4 separate regions of the Homo sapiens genome follow, and regions 1, 2 and 3 are each linked to region 4. The links are contacts of gene promoters, found by promoter capture Hi-C in blood cells and fetal thymus (Javierre and others, 2016). All regions are on one chromosome and are shown on one strand. Each heading gives the region's core, a stretch centred on a gene start or on the middle of the fragment in contact. The rest is flanking DNA. Distances are from core to core; before and after follow the strand shown. Region 1 has its middle 21 kb from the start of CD300LB. Region 2 overlaps CD300LB (CD300 molecule like family member b). Region 3 holds the start of CD300C (CD300c molecule). Region 4 holds the start of GPR142 (G protein-coupled receptor 142).

Evidence for each region. The method cuts DNA at HindIII sites, captures the fragments that hold promoters and counts their contacts. A CHiCAGO score of 5 or more calls a contact.
Region 1: a contact is called between a fragment that was not itself captured here and the fragment with the promoter of GPR142 in region 4, in 1 of 17 cell types (fetal thymus). The highest score is 5.2, in fetal thymus.
Region 2: a fragment that was not itself captured here is called in contact with the fragment with the promoter of GPR142 in region 4 in 13 of 17 cell types (megakaryocytes, naive CD8 T cells, total CD4 T cells and 10 more); the score reaches 11.4 in megakaryocytes.
Region 3: a contact is called between the fragment with the promoter of CD300C here and the fragment with the promoter of GPR142 in region 4, in 7 of 17 cell types (M2 macrophages, M0 macrophages, megakaryocytes and 4 more). The highest score is 6.8, in M2 macrophages.

Annotation. Positions count from the first base shown.
Region 1 is chr17:74,509,012-74,512,525 of GRCh38, forward strand. No RefSeq gene overlaps it. Among named protein-coding and RNA genes, the nearest start is that of CD300LB, 21 kb to the right of the region's middle. RefSeq lists an enhancer at 3,456-3,514. The HindIII fragment of the contact is 7,162 bases long and covers 1-3,514 here.
Region 2 is chr17:74,526,528-74,530,049 of GRCh38, forward strand. All of the region lies in intron 1 of CD300LB (CD300 molecule like family member b), which reads right to left. All of the region lies in intron 1 of LOC107985074 (a long non-coding RNA gene), which reads left to right. Among named protein-coding and RNA genes, the nearest start is that of CD300LB, 3.2 kb to the right of the region's middle. RefSeq lists an enhancer at 1,998-2,067. The HindIII fragment of the contact is 226 bases long and covers 1,364-1,589 here.
Region 3 is chr17:74,544,341-74,547,791 of GRCh38, forward strand. CD300C (CD300c molecule) reads right to left here and starts at 1,775. Exons shown (of 4, transcript NM_006678.5): 1 at 1,382-1,775; 2 at 269-607. The coding sequence starts at 1,442. It also overlaps a transcript of LOC107985074 not described here. The HindIII fragment of the contact is 25,491 bases long and covers 1-3,451 here.
Region 4 is chr17:74,365,939-74,368,987 of GRCh38, forward strand. GPR142 (G protein-coupled receptor 142) reads left to right here and starts at 1,568. Exons shown (of 4, transcript NM_001331076.1): 1 at 1,568-1,856. RefSeq lists an enhancer at 2,182-3,049. The HindIII fragment of the contact is 12,679 bases long and covers 400-3,049 here.

The sequences.
Region 1 (3,514 bases), core at 16-2,515, 140 kb after region 4:
TTTATTTTAGTTTCATTGATCTTTTGCATTTGCATTTTCTTCATTTCAATTTCATTTATTTCTGCCCTGATCTTTATTATTTCTTTATTTCTACTAATTTTGGGTTTGCTTCACTCTTGCATTTCTAGTTCTTTAAGATGCATCATTAGGTTGTTTATTTGAGGTTTTTCTACTTTTTTTGATGTAGATACTCAATACTGCTTTCACTGTATCCCATAGATTTTATTGTGTTGTGTTTCCATTTTCATTTGTTTCAAGAAATTTTTAAATTTCCTTCTTACTTTTTTTCATTAACCCACTAGTTATTCAGGGGCATATTGTTTAATTTCCATGTTTTGTATAGTTTTCAAAATTCTTCTTGTTATTGATTTCTAGTTTTATTCTTTGTGGTCACTGAAGACACTTGATATGATTTCAATTATTTTGAATATTTCAAGACCTGTTTTGTGGCCTAACATATGGTCTATCCTTGAGAATGATCCATGTGCTGAGGAGAAGACTGTGTATCTGCAGCTGCTGAATGAAATGTTCTTTTAAATATCTATTAGGTCCATTTGGTCTATAGTACAGATTAAGTCCAACGTTTCTTTGTTGATTTTCTGTCTGGATGCACTGTCCAATGCTGAAAGTGTAGTGTAGAAGTCTCCAGCAATTATTGTATTGAGGATATATTATTTTAGCTATAAAGATATTTGCAATATATATCTGAGTGCTCCACTGTTGGGTGCATATATACTTACAATTGCTATATCCTCTTGTTGAATTGATTTCTTTATTATTATATAATGTTCTTCTTTGTCTCTTTTTATAGTTTTGTCTTAAAATCTATGTAATGTGATATAAGTATAGCTATTCATACTCTTTTTTGGTTTCCATTTGCATGAAATATCTTTTTCGATTCCTTTAATTCACCTATTTATGTCTTTATAGGTGAAGTGTGTTTCTTGTAGGCAACAGATCTTGGGTCTAGTTTTTCTTTTTAATCCATTCAGCTGCTCCATGTCTTTTGACTGAAGTGTTTAGTCCATTTACATTCAATGTTATTATTGATAACTAAAGACTACTCCTGCCCTTTTGTTACTTGTTTACTGGTTGTTTTCTGGCCTTCTCTTCCTTCCTTCTTTCTTTTCTTCTTGTCTTCTTTTTACTGAAGCTGATTTTGTCTGGTGATATGTATTAATTTCTTACTTTTTATTTTTTGTGTATCTGTTGTATGTGTATGTTTTTGAGTTGATATTACCATGAGGCTTGGAAATAATATCTTATAACTCATTATTTTAAGCTGATGACAACTTAACACTGATTGTAATAACAAGCTAACAAACAAGCAAATATAAGGCTAATAGAAAAAAACTCTACACTTGAACTTCATCCCCCCACTTTTTAATTTTTTGTTGTTTCTATTGATACCTTATTATACTCTCAATGTCTTAAATGTTGCTTTAGGCTGGGTGCGGTGGCTCACACCAGTAATCTCAGCACTTTTGGAAGCCAAGGTGGGCAGATCACTGGAGCCCAAGAGTTCAAGACCAGCCTGGGCAACATGGCAAAAACTTGTCCCTCCTAAAAATACAAAAAATAGCCGGGTGTAGTGGTGTGCACCTGTAGTCCCAGCTACTCAGGAGGCTGAGGTGGGAGGATCACTTGAGCCAGGGAGGCAGAAGTTGCAGTGAGCCAAGGTCATGTCACTACACTCCAGGCCTGGACAACAAAGTAAGACCCCATCTCAAAAAAAAAAAGCATAGTTATTATTTTTTATATATTTTATAGGTTCTTCTTTTAGTCTTTCTACTCAAGATATAAGTGATTTACACACAATTTCAGGGGTTAGAATCTGTTTTTCTGTGTACTTACTATTAATAGTGAGATTTGTACCTTCAGATGATTTCTTACTGCTCATTAACATCCTTTTCTTTAAGATTGAAGAACTCCCTTTAGCCTTTAGCACTTCTTTCTTTTTTTATTTTTATTTATTTATTTGTTTTAAGATGGAGAGTCTCACTCTGTCACCCAGGCTGGAGTGCATGGCACAATCTCAGCTCACTGCAAACTCTGCCTCCCGGGTTCAAGTGATTCTCGAGCCTCAGCCTCCCAAGTAGCTGGGATTACAGTCATGCACCACCATGCCCTGCTAATTGTTGTATTTTTAGTGGAGACAGGTTTCACCATGTTGTCCAGGTTGGTCTCAAACTCCTGACCTCAAGTCCCTTTAGCATTTCTTATAGGACAGGTCTAGTGTTGATAAAATTGCTCAACTTTTGTTTGTCTGAGAAAGTATTTCTCCTTCATGTTTGAAGGGTATTTTCACTAGATATACTATTCTACGATAAAAGTTTTTTCCTTCAACACTTAAATACCACTCTCTCCCAGCCTGTAAGATTTCCCTCAAGAAGCCTACTGCCAGAAGTTTTGGAGCTCCCTTTTATGTTACTTATTTCTCTTCTCTTTCTGTTTTTAGGACCCTTTTTTTTATCCTTGACTTTTGGGAGTTTTTTTATTAAGTGTCTTGAGATAGTCTTATTTGGGTTAAATCTGCTTGGTTTCTGGAACCTTCTGGTATTTGAACACTGATATCTTTATCTAGGTTTGGGAAGTTCTCTGTAATTATCCCGTTGATAAAACTTTCTATCCTGATCTGTCTCTACCTTCTCTTAAGGCCAGTAACGCTTAGATTTGCCCTTTTGAGACTATTTTCTAGATCTTATAGGCATGTTTCATTCTTTCTCATTCTTTTTCTTTTGTCTCCTCTGACTCTGTATTTTCAAATAACCTGTCTTCAAGCTCAGTAATTCTTTCTTTGGCTTGGTCAATTCTGCTGTTAGGAGATTCTGATGCATTCTTTGGTGTGTCTATTTCATTTTTCAGCTCTGGAATTTCTGCTTAATTCTTTTTTATTATTTTGATCTCTTCATTAAATTTATGTGATAGGATTCTGAATTCCTTCTCTGAGTTATCTTGGATTTCACTGAGCTTCCTCAAAACAGCTATTTTGAATTCTCTGTCTGAAAGGTCCCTGTTTCTCCAGGATTGGTCCCTGGTGCCTTATTTGGTTGTTTGCTGAGGACATGTTTTCCTGAATTGTCTGACTGGCCCTGTGGCCTGAGTCACATTTCAGCTGAAGTCCCAGGCTGCTGCCAACACCTCCATGGCCTGGCAGTCTTCCACTGGAGTTCAAGTTACACTGCTCACCAGAGAATCACACGCATTCAGTGTGTGGACTCCATCCTCACAATCAGATGCTCAGTGTCCAAAATGCTGGGTAAGAAACATCCTGAAGAACACAAATCTGAGATACAGCCTCTTCCAGGCCTGCTCCAAGGCTCCAGACCAATGCATGAAGCACAGCCTGAGTCCACGTGCCTGAGGGAACAGACCTCCAAAGCCTACATTGGGAGCTTCCACCTGGCAAGGAAGGTGTGCTAAGGGCAGAGCTTCCGGCCTCCCTGTTATCTCAAATGTGGACCTATCACTGGGGCCCTAGTACTGGGCCCAATACTTGCCTCCACCCTTTGTC
Region 2 (3,522 bases), core at 227-2,726, 160 kb after region 4:
CATGGTGAAACCCAGTCTTTACTAAAAATACAAAAATTAGCTGGGCGTGGTGGCAGTCACCTGTAGTCTCAGCTATGCGGGAGGCTGAAGCATGAAAATTGCTTGAACCCGGGAGGCGGAGGTTGCAGTGAGCTGAGATCGCACCACTGCACTCCAGCCTAGGCAACAGAGTGAGACTCTTGTCTAGAAAAAGAAAAAGAAAAAAAATCTGGTTTTAATATTTGCCAAATTCCATAGTGTAAATACTCCCACGGTGGCAGATGTCAGGTAATCCATGTGATGTCACTGGACACAGAGCTGGGAAAAGATGTCCCAAGCCAGCTCCTGTGAGCCAGCCCCAGCACACTGCGGGGGTACCCAGGGTTCCCTCTCCAGCCTTCATCTTGTCTCACCTGACAAGCCTCCATGGAGGGAGTCTCTCCATTTCCATGGCTTTAATGATTACCTGTTTCCTGATGATTCCCAAATCCATATTTGCAGCTCAGACTCCCCTTAGCTAGCCCACCATTTACAAAGACACACTGGATGTCTCCACCCCAGATTCCTTCGTTGCAGAATTGAATGCACTTCCTCTCCCACCCTGAACTACTCTTCTTCAGTATTTTTTTCTAGTGGAGCAATTGGATGTGGCAAGAGTAACAAAGGCCTGGTGAAAGCTGAACAGGTTAGAGGTGAGCATAATCAAATGGCAGTCCGTGCCTCCGCTGATTGACTCCAGTTAGGCTGTGTGTAGATAGGCTCTTTCCTTGGCAATGACACGGGTTTCTTGATCACGCAGAAGTGGATAAACAGGCAGAGAATCACAGGGGAAGCCTCTCTTGACTGTCTCTTGGCCTCAGAGCTTCAGGCCCAGGCCAGGGGTCTCTGCAGGGTGGAGAAAGCCAGGTCTATTTCTCCAGGCAGATGCCGCCTCCTCACAGCTTGGGCCTTCTCCTTGAAGCTGTGTTAGTTTTCTTGAACTTTGCATTCGTGGTTGGTAGAATAATGTCCCCCATAGCTGTTGGCATCCTCATACACAGAACCTGCGAATATGTCCCCTGACATGGCCAGAGGGACTCTGCCGATGTGATGAAGTTAAGGACCTTGAGACAGGAAGAATATCCCGAATAATCTCCATGGATATTCTAAGTGAAAGAGGGTTGAGGGAGAGTCCAATTGGAAGATGGTCTGTTGCTGCTTTGAAGTGGAAGAAGAGGCCACCGGCCAAGGAAAGCAGATGGCTTCTAGAAGCTGGAAAATGCAGGGAAACAGATTCTCCCCTAGAATAGGGGTTCCCAACCCCAGGACAACAGACTAGTAACAGCCCATGGCCTGTTAGGAACCGGACCTTACAGCAGGAGGTGAGCGGTGGGCAAGCAAGCGAAGCTTCATCTGTATTTACAGCCACTCCCCGTTGTTCAAACTACCACCTGATCTCCGCCTCCCATCAGACCAGCGGCCGCATTAGATTCTCATAGAAGTGAGAACCCTATTGTGAACTTCGTGTGTGAGGGATCTAGATTGCACACACTTTATGAGACTCTAATGCCTGATGATGTGTCACTGTCTCCCATCACCCCCAGATGGGATCATCTAGTTGCAGGTAAACAAGCTTAGGGCTCCCACTGATTCTACATTATGGTGCAGTGTATAATCATTTCATTATATATTATAATATAATAGTAATATAAAGTATACAATAAGTGTAATGCGTTTGAATCATCCCAAACCATCCTCACCCCACTCCTGATGTGGAAAAATTGTCTTCCACAAAACCGGATCCTGGTGCCAAAAAGGTTGGGGACCACTGCTCTAAAGAAACCCAACCCTACTTGCACCTCAATTTTAACCAGTAAGACCACGCCAGGCTCTGGTCTTCAGAAGCATCAATGAGATGATGAAATTGTGCAGTTCTAAGCCATAGAGTTCATGTTAATTTGTTACAGCAGCCACTGGAAATTCACATGGCATTCAATCAGCAGAACCAACTTGATTCTCTTCAAACCAGCAGCTCCACCACCCAGCCTTCAGGAAGAGCTTGGCATCTTCTTTCATGCTGTCCTCTCCTTCAGCCCCCGAGCTGATTGGTAGCCAGTTTAGTCAGCTCTATCCTAGAGATGCTCCTCAGTTTTTTTTTTTCTTCTTTCAGTCTCTGCCATCGCAGGCCACAAGGACAGCATGACATCAGAGAGAGTGTGAGCTTTGATGCAGAAAGACTTGACACTGAACTAGTTGGGAAACCCTGGCAGAGTTGCTTAACCTCTGCAAGTATCGCTTCCTTATTCATAAGACAGTCATGCTACGCTCTACTTTGAAGGTGGTAATAGGACTTGGATGTGTGTAGGCTGGGCAAGGTGGCTCATGCCTGTAATTCCAAAGCTGTGGGAGGCTGAGGCAGGAGGATCGCTTGAGCCCAGGAGTTCCAGACTAACCTGGGCAACATGGTGAAACCCTGTGTCTGCAAATGCAAAAGATTAGCCAGGAGTGGTGGTGCATGCCTGTGGTCCCCACTGCTTGGGGGGCTGAGGTGGGAGGATCGCCTGAGCCTGAGAGTTCAAGGCTGCAGTGAGTTATAATCGCCCACCACTGCACTTCAGCCTGGGTGACAGAGTGAGACACTGTCTTCAAAAAATTATTTATTTTTAAATTTAAAAGAAGACTTGGATGTATGTCCAACGCCAGACATTTGGGGTTTGCTCTGTCAGTGACAGCTCATCAACAGGTCAGAACTTCATCTGTGCCTGGATCATGGCAGTGGCATCTGGAGAGGTCTTCCCAGCCCCAGCAGCATCCTCCCCAACTCTCCTCTCCTGAGGATTATGGCCTTCATAATCTTGTCTTTTGTGTTTCCAACCTCATATCCAACTCGCCACCCCCAAGATGTCCTGCACACTGACAGCTCCCTCAGCTTTCCTCTCCATACTGCTGCCTGAGTTGGGTACTGAGACTGTCTCCTCCTCCTCATCAGCTGCACTTGCCCTGAGCATCTAAAAGTCTTTTCGGGGCCGGGCACGGTGGCTCATGCCTGTATTCCCGCACTTTGGGAGGCCAAGGTGGGTGGATCACCTGAGGTCAGGAGTTCAAGACCAACCTCACCAACATGGTGAAATCCTGTCTCTACTAAAATTACAAAAATTAGCCAGGCATGGTGGCAGGCACCTTAATCCCAGCTTCTTGGGAGACTGAGGCAGAAGAATCACTCGAACCTGGGAGGCGGAGGTTGCAGTGAGCCAAGGTTGCACCACTGCACTCCAACCTGGGTGACAGAGTGAAACTCCGTCTCAAAAACAAAAAACAAAAACAAAAACAAAATACCCAAAAACATAAATTGGATTTGTCAGCAATCACTAACAGCAGAAAAGAGATGCTGCTGCATTGAACAAAGTGTCATCAATCCCAGCTTCAGTCATTCAAACTGTAAATGGCTCACGATGTAATTAGTCCCGTTTAAAAAAATATTTGGGGGTTTCTCTAACCACAGAATATGATGGCTGGAACTATTAATCAGGCTTCTATATGTTGTCAAGAGTTGGTATGAGGAAC
Region 3 (3,451 bases), core at 525-3,024, 180 kb after region 4:
TCTCCAGCCACAGGGCCAGGGTGCTTTTGTGGGCGCCCACCCTCCCAACACACACATGCAGGTGCACACACACACAAACCACACCACAACTCCTATGCAGGCACGCATACACAAAGACGCACTCACACTCATCCACACACAGCGGCACACAGTGTCCTGACTCACCAACCCCCAGGCTCACACCCTCCTGTTCCACTTCTTTCTTCAGGGACAGAATGACCAGCCCTAGGCTCAGGCAGGCCTGGTGCTGAGAAAAGGAGGGGCTCACCCGGGAACACGGACACCTCAACCTCGACAATGGGATCATGAAAGTCTCGGAGCCACGGTGTATCCACCCCACACCAGTAGGTGCCTGCGTCCTCCTCTGTGAGATTCTCCAGGGTCACTGTGAAGCTGAGGTTTGCAGGACTGTCCCTGATGGACACTCGGCCATTCCTTTTCCCTGCTGACCCTTTGGTCTCCACAATCTTGTCACATCGGAGAATCTGTGGTGGTCTGCACCAGAATTTGTTGAGGGTCCTGTGTTCCTTCTCATAGCGACACTGCACACTCAGGGATCCCCCCACGGGGCCCGCCACGGTCATGGGGTGGCTCAGAGGAAAATAGCCTGAAAAATACAAGCCAAAATCCTGTCTCCTTACCAGAGGGGCCTGGTCAGGGGTGCCGCAGTGTCAGCCCCTCATGGACCCTGGGCGTGTGGAGAAGGCAATGGCAGGCAGGCAGCCTTTGTCCACCCAGGAACAGGGACTGAGGGTGGGAGGCTCCCTCTGTGCAGAGGTGGGAAGGGCATGGGAAGTTTCCATGGAGACTGGAAAGGCAAGGCTAGGGAAACACTGGGTGTGTGCGGGCCTGTGTGTGCATGTGAGTGTGACTCTGTGTGTGTGACTGTGTGAGTGTGACTGTCTGTGTGAGTGTGACTGTGTGTGACTGTGTGTGCATGTGTGACTGTGTGTGCATGTGAGTGTGACTGTGTGTGCATGTGTGACTGTGTGCATGTGTGTGTGAGACTGTGTGAGTGTGACTGTGTGTGCATGTGTGTGAGACTGTGTGAGTGTGACCGTGTGTGCGTGTGAGTGTGACTGTGTGTGTGATCGTCCCAGATAAAATTTGTGATTGGATAACTTTGGCAATGACAGTCACAGCATCACCTCCCACCAGGGCTTCCTGTCTCGGGCACAGAGGAATAGGCCTCCCCCGTGCTGTGCCCTGCCGCCTGCTGTCCCCTGGTGAGGCAGCTGCTGACCGCTCCTGGGTGCTCCTTTGCCCTCCTCCCCTCTCCCTGCCCCACTCCCCTCTATGACCGCTACTCCAGCGCCTGCACCCCTCCCTGCCCTCTCCCACTCAGGACAGAGCTCCCCAAGTCCAGGGTCGGCCCACTCACCTGGGACAAGCAGGAGGAGCAGAGCTGAAGACCGCCACGAGGCCCAGGCCCTGGCAGTCATTCCTGTAACACGAATGTCACCTGCCACTGTGCAAGACCCCAGGAGGGGACAAAATGTAATCTCCTCCCAGCAGATCTGAGCTTCGCTTCTGCTTTTCTTCTGCTCTCTGCTTCCTTGTCCAGCCCTGTCTCAGGTCTGAGGCTGGAGAGGGTCAGGGTACAGGAAGCTCAGGGAGAGAGCCGCCTGGGCTGAGGCCGGTGCTGACAGCTCTGGGATGGTGCTAGTGGCTCCTCTCAACCCTGACGTCTGGCAAAGTCCAGGGTCCCTTGGGTGGCGATGCAGCCACTTCCCCACAGCCCACAGCTTCTGGCTTCAGTGTGTTACTCACACTGCAGAAGGCAGAGCCAAGCTGGGCCATTTCCTACCACATGGGCTGCTCCACCCTCTGTGACATGTCACTTCCTGGTCAGGATGGACAATCTTGTGGTTGGAGGCTAAATCTGCCACCTTCTTTAGCCTTGGAGGTGACCAGAGAGAGGTTGTGTCCCTTAATCTTCAGCTAGGTCCCCGCAGAGACCTCTGCCCCTAAGACCCCCAGCTCTTCTTCTGGCCTCAGAAGTTAGCGCTATGAACCCAGACACCATCTGCATGTCCCTTTTTGGTGCTGAGTCCCCAACCAGGTTAAAATCCCACAGGCTTGGGGAGTTTTCCTCTTGTGCCCCTGCCCCCAGACCTACACACACAGCGGCATCACCCACCCGAGACCCTCCTTTTCCATCTTGTCTTCTTGCCAAAATCCATGCCCCAGTGGGAATCAGGGCAGAGAACTGAGAATAGAGAGAGAGTTCAGACATGTGAAGATGCTGAAGTGGGACTTTGTGGAGGATGTGAGGCTGCGACTGAGCCAGCACACACCCCAGGGCACACGGAGGGGTGTTTGGTGACTGAGAGGACAGTTTGTCATGAGCAGCGGCTGCTGGTGTCTATCCTGGGTCCACTGTGATGGCCAGGGGCCTCCGCAGGGAGCAGACATGGCAGACAGGCCTTCCCAGGAGGCGGGAACCCAGGTCTATCCACACTCGGCATGGCTGGTTCTCCTGACGTGATGGGCTCAGGGTGTCTTTACCCTGGAAAGGGCAAGGAGGCTAGTCAGACACAGGATTTACCTCCTGTCTGTCCTGGAGGGCATCACCCCTTCTCCACCTTCTCATGCCTTAAGCATATTCCTTGACTCTCCCAACCCTCCTACAGATTTCTGTTCCTTTCTTCCTATCAGAGTCAATAGCACCAGTATGTGCACACAGCCATGAGGTTGAGTGGAGAGTGATGGGAGTCTGGGCAAACCTGGCACCATGAAGGGGTCTCTGCACCCTCGACCTGCCCTGTCCTCCCTCCATTTACACTCTCAGGGACACAGCATGCACTGGGGTCATTGGTGTTGATGCCCCCAGACTCACATCATGGGACTATCTCTAGCCCAGTGCAATCCCAGGGCCTCCAATTAGCCCAGTGCTCAGGTCTGGCCTGGGCCTGGCTTTGAAGTATCCCGGCTCTTTCATGGGCTGACCTGGTCTCCCCTTCTGCTCATACCCACCCCTTTCATTCTCCACAGAATCAGCAATGTGATCCCTGACACACACACATGGCCCTGGGGAGGCGCTGCTGAACTCCCAATGGCTCCTGCTGTCACAGGATGGCACCCACCTGACCTGGCCTCTGCACACAGGTCCTGGCAGGCCCCAGCACCTGGTAGGTGTCTCCAGCCTCCTGGATCCAGGTTCACACTGGTGCTGCCACCCTCCCCACTCGGGCCTTTGTCCAGACCCTCAACCTCCCACTCCTCTGCCTGGCTCCAGCCGACAGGGTTGCCTGCGTGTTCCTTGACCTTCCCGGGTTATGGTGGCTCGCTTTTTAGGGGTCCTCATGACCCATTTCACACTTCCCTCTCGTCTTCCTCAGTCTTTCTGTTGGCGAGTCAATGTCTGCTCCCATCTAGGGTGGCCGCCCCTTGAGAGCAGGTGCAGCCTCTTGTCTCATTCACAGCTGTGCCCGTTATCATTCCAGAGTCT
Region 4 (3,049 bases), core at 318-2,817:
CTCTTGCAAGCTTGGGACCAGATAAAGAGTTTCTGAATCTGCAAAGGGGGTGATCAGACACTGGACTGTGGTAACACCTCAGAGGGGTGGGCTCCAGACGCAGCCTGGCCCTACCTGGCACCCTCCCTTGCATCTGTAGTGCCTCCTGTCCTGACTTAGGGTTCCCTGAGTCACTGGGCCACTTGGACTGGGGACAGGAGATCATGGGTTTAAGTTCCAGGCCCCGTGTACACAGGGGAGCACATAAAGGTAAATATGAGGCCGGGCATGATGTCTCACACCTTTAATTCCAGCACTTTGGGAGGCTGAGGCGGGTGGATCACTTGAGGTCAGGAGTTCAAGCCCAGCCCGGGCAACATGGTAAAACCCCGTCTCTACTAAAACTACAAATATTAGCCAAGCTTGGTGGCTGGTGACTGTAATCCCAGCTACTTGGGAGGCTGAGGCAGGAAAATCGCTTGAACCCGGGAAGCAGAGGTTGCAGTGAGCTGAGATTGCACCCCTGCACTCCAGCCTGGGCAACAGGGTGAGACTCTGTCTCAAACAAACAAAAACTTAAATAAGAAGGAATCCTTGGCCAGGTGTGGTGGCTCACATCTGTAATCCCAGCACTCTGGGAGGCCGAGGCAGGTGGATTGCATGAGCCCAGGAGCTCGAGACCAGCCTAGGCAACATGGCGAAACACCGTCTCTACAAAAAATACGAAAATTAGCTGGGCGTGTTGGTGCTTGCCTGTAATGCCAGCTATTTGGGAGGCTGAGATGGGAGGATCACTTGAGCCTGGGAGTTCGAGGCTGCAGTGAGCTATGATCACACCACTGTACCACAGCCTGGGTGACAGAGTGAGACCCTGTCTTGAGGGGTAGGGAGGCAGAAGGAAAAAAAAGAGAGAGAGAGACCCTGGTGCTCAGGCCTGGTGGCTCTGGCTGGACTGATCAGGGCTGAAGACTTCAGAGACCAAAAAGGTCAAGGTGTGGCCGGGTGCGGTGGCTCACACCTGTGATCCCAGCATTTTTGGGAGACCCAGGTGGGCATATCACCTGAGGCCAGGAGCTCAGGACCAGCCTGGCTAACACGGTGAAACCCCGTCTCTACTAAAAATACAAAAATTAGCCAGGCATGGTGGCAGGCACCTGTAATCCCAGCTACTTGGGAGGCTGAGGCAGGAGAATCACTGGAACCCAGGAGGCAGAGGTTGCAGTGAGCCGAGATAGCACCATTGCACTCCAGCCTGGGTGACAGAGCGAGACTCTGTCTCAAAAAGAAAAGAAAAAAAAAGTCAAGGTGTGCGGCTGGGTCTTCATAACATCTTTCACCTTGCCCAGGCTGGCTCAGAGGTGACTGCCTTAGTGGATAGGATCCCTTCCACCGTGGGCTAGCAGCCTACCCTGGTCACTGACACCACACCATGTAGGAAAGAATCGCCACCACCAAGAAGGGGCCTCTCACCTCTGTATAGGCTGTGTGCTGGCTGATGACGTGGTTGCCCTGTCCTGTCTGCTGCTGCCACTGAGCTGGACATCTCCAGGCTCCATCTCTTGAACCATGGATCCCAGCGTTGTTAGCAATGAGTATTATGATGTTGCCCATGGAGCAAAAGATCCAGTGGGTCCCCACTTCCCTGCAGGACATCACTGCTGTCCTGGGTACAGAAGCATATACTGAGGAAGACAAATCAATGGTGTCCCATGCACAGAAAAGCCAGCATTCTTGTCTCAGCCATTCCAGGTGGCTGAGGTCTCCACAGGTCACAGGGGGAAGCTGGGACCTCCGAATAAGGCCATCCAAGGACTCCAGCAGTTTCCGCCAGGTGAATCCAGCTGCCTCCCAGAACAGGCCTTCTATGGGGTGGGATGGTAAGTTGCTGGAAGGACGTGCATGGGGCATCATTGTAGCAAACTCAGTCCCCCTCCTCCATCTCTCCCTCTCCTCGCTCTGAATCCAGGGAGCTCTAGTTTTCTGTGTAGCCTGTGTGACAGCCTTGGTTGAAACCCTTGTGTTCCGTCTGAAGAATATTTAAGGTTTCCAGTCAAGTGTACATCCCTCAAAGAAACAAAGTGGGCTTGGCATGGTGACTCACACCTGTAATCCCAGCTCTTTGAGAGGCCAAGGCAGAAGGACCACTTGAAGCCTGGAGTTCCAGACCAGCCTCGGCAACACAGCGAGGCCCCAAACTCTCTCTATATCTATACATAAAATTTAAAAAACAAAGTGTAGGGACAGGGTGGGCACTCGGTAAATGTTGGCAGGGACCCTCCTTGCCCCTCACCCATGGCAGCTCCTTGAAGAGAGGGTCAGCCTCCTCTCACCCCTAGCCTCCTGCTGCAAGGAGGTGGTGGCCTGGGGCGTCATCTGTGCTACTTGCACTTTCTGGGGCTGGGGTCCCAGCACTCCACCAGAGGACCTGCCCTGAGCGGGCAGCTCCGTCTCCAGTCCCACTGTGCCACCCAGGGTGCCTAGCCAAACCATGGGACTTTCAGGCTTGCAGGGTCAGGATGTGGCCACCAGGGGGCAGCAGGGCCTGCGCTGTGAGTATCCGAGGGGGGGTTGGGATGGGGAGTTCCAGGCTCTGATGTGAGATCTAACTCCCAGAGCTGGGAAGCTCCCTATATTTCCTGCCATATTTTCTGCTGCATTCCCAGAGGACAGGCCATGGGAGGTGATTCCAGGGGGGCCTGAGCTCTCCTCCCGAGACCGTCCACGGGGCATCCATGTCCCGGGTACCTGCTTGTGGGCTGCTCTGGTCACTCTTCCTCTAGGGCAGGAGAGCCAGTCTGGCCTCTTCTGAGTGCACACCAGCAACGGCTGTTGTTTATTTGCCAGGGATTGATATTCTTGAGGGATGGTCCATTTCACCAGGGCCAGGGAAACAACAGCTTGCAGGACTGTGGTTTCCCAGCACCGGCTGCAGGCAGCCTCGTCCGGCTGCTCCCAGAGGATGCCCCACCCTGTGCACGGCTGCCTGCCATCCTGCCCCTGGGGGTAGCCTCCACCTCCCCCACCATGGCCACTGCAGGACTGACCCTGTGCACCTGGTCCCCTGAGCCTC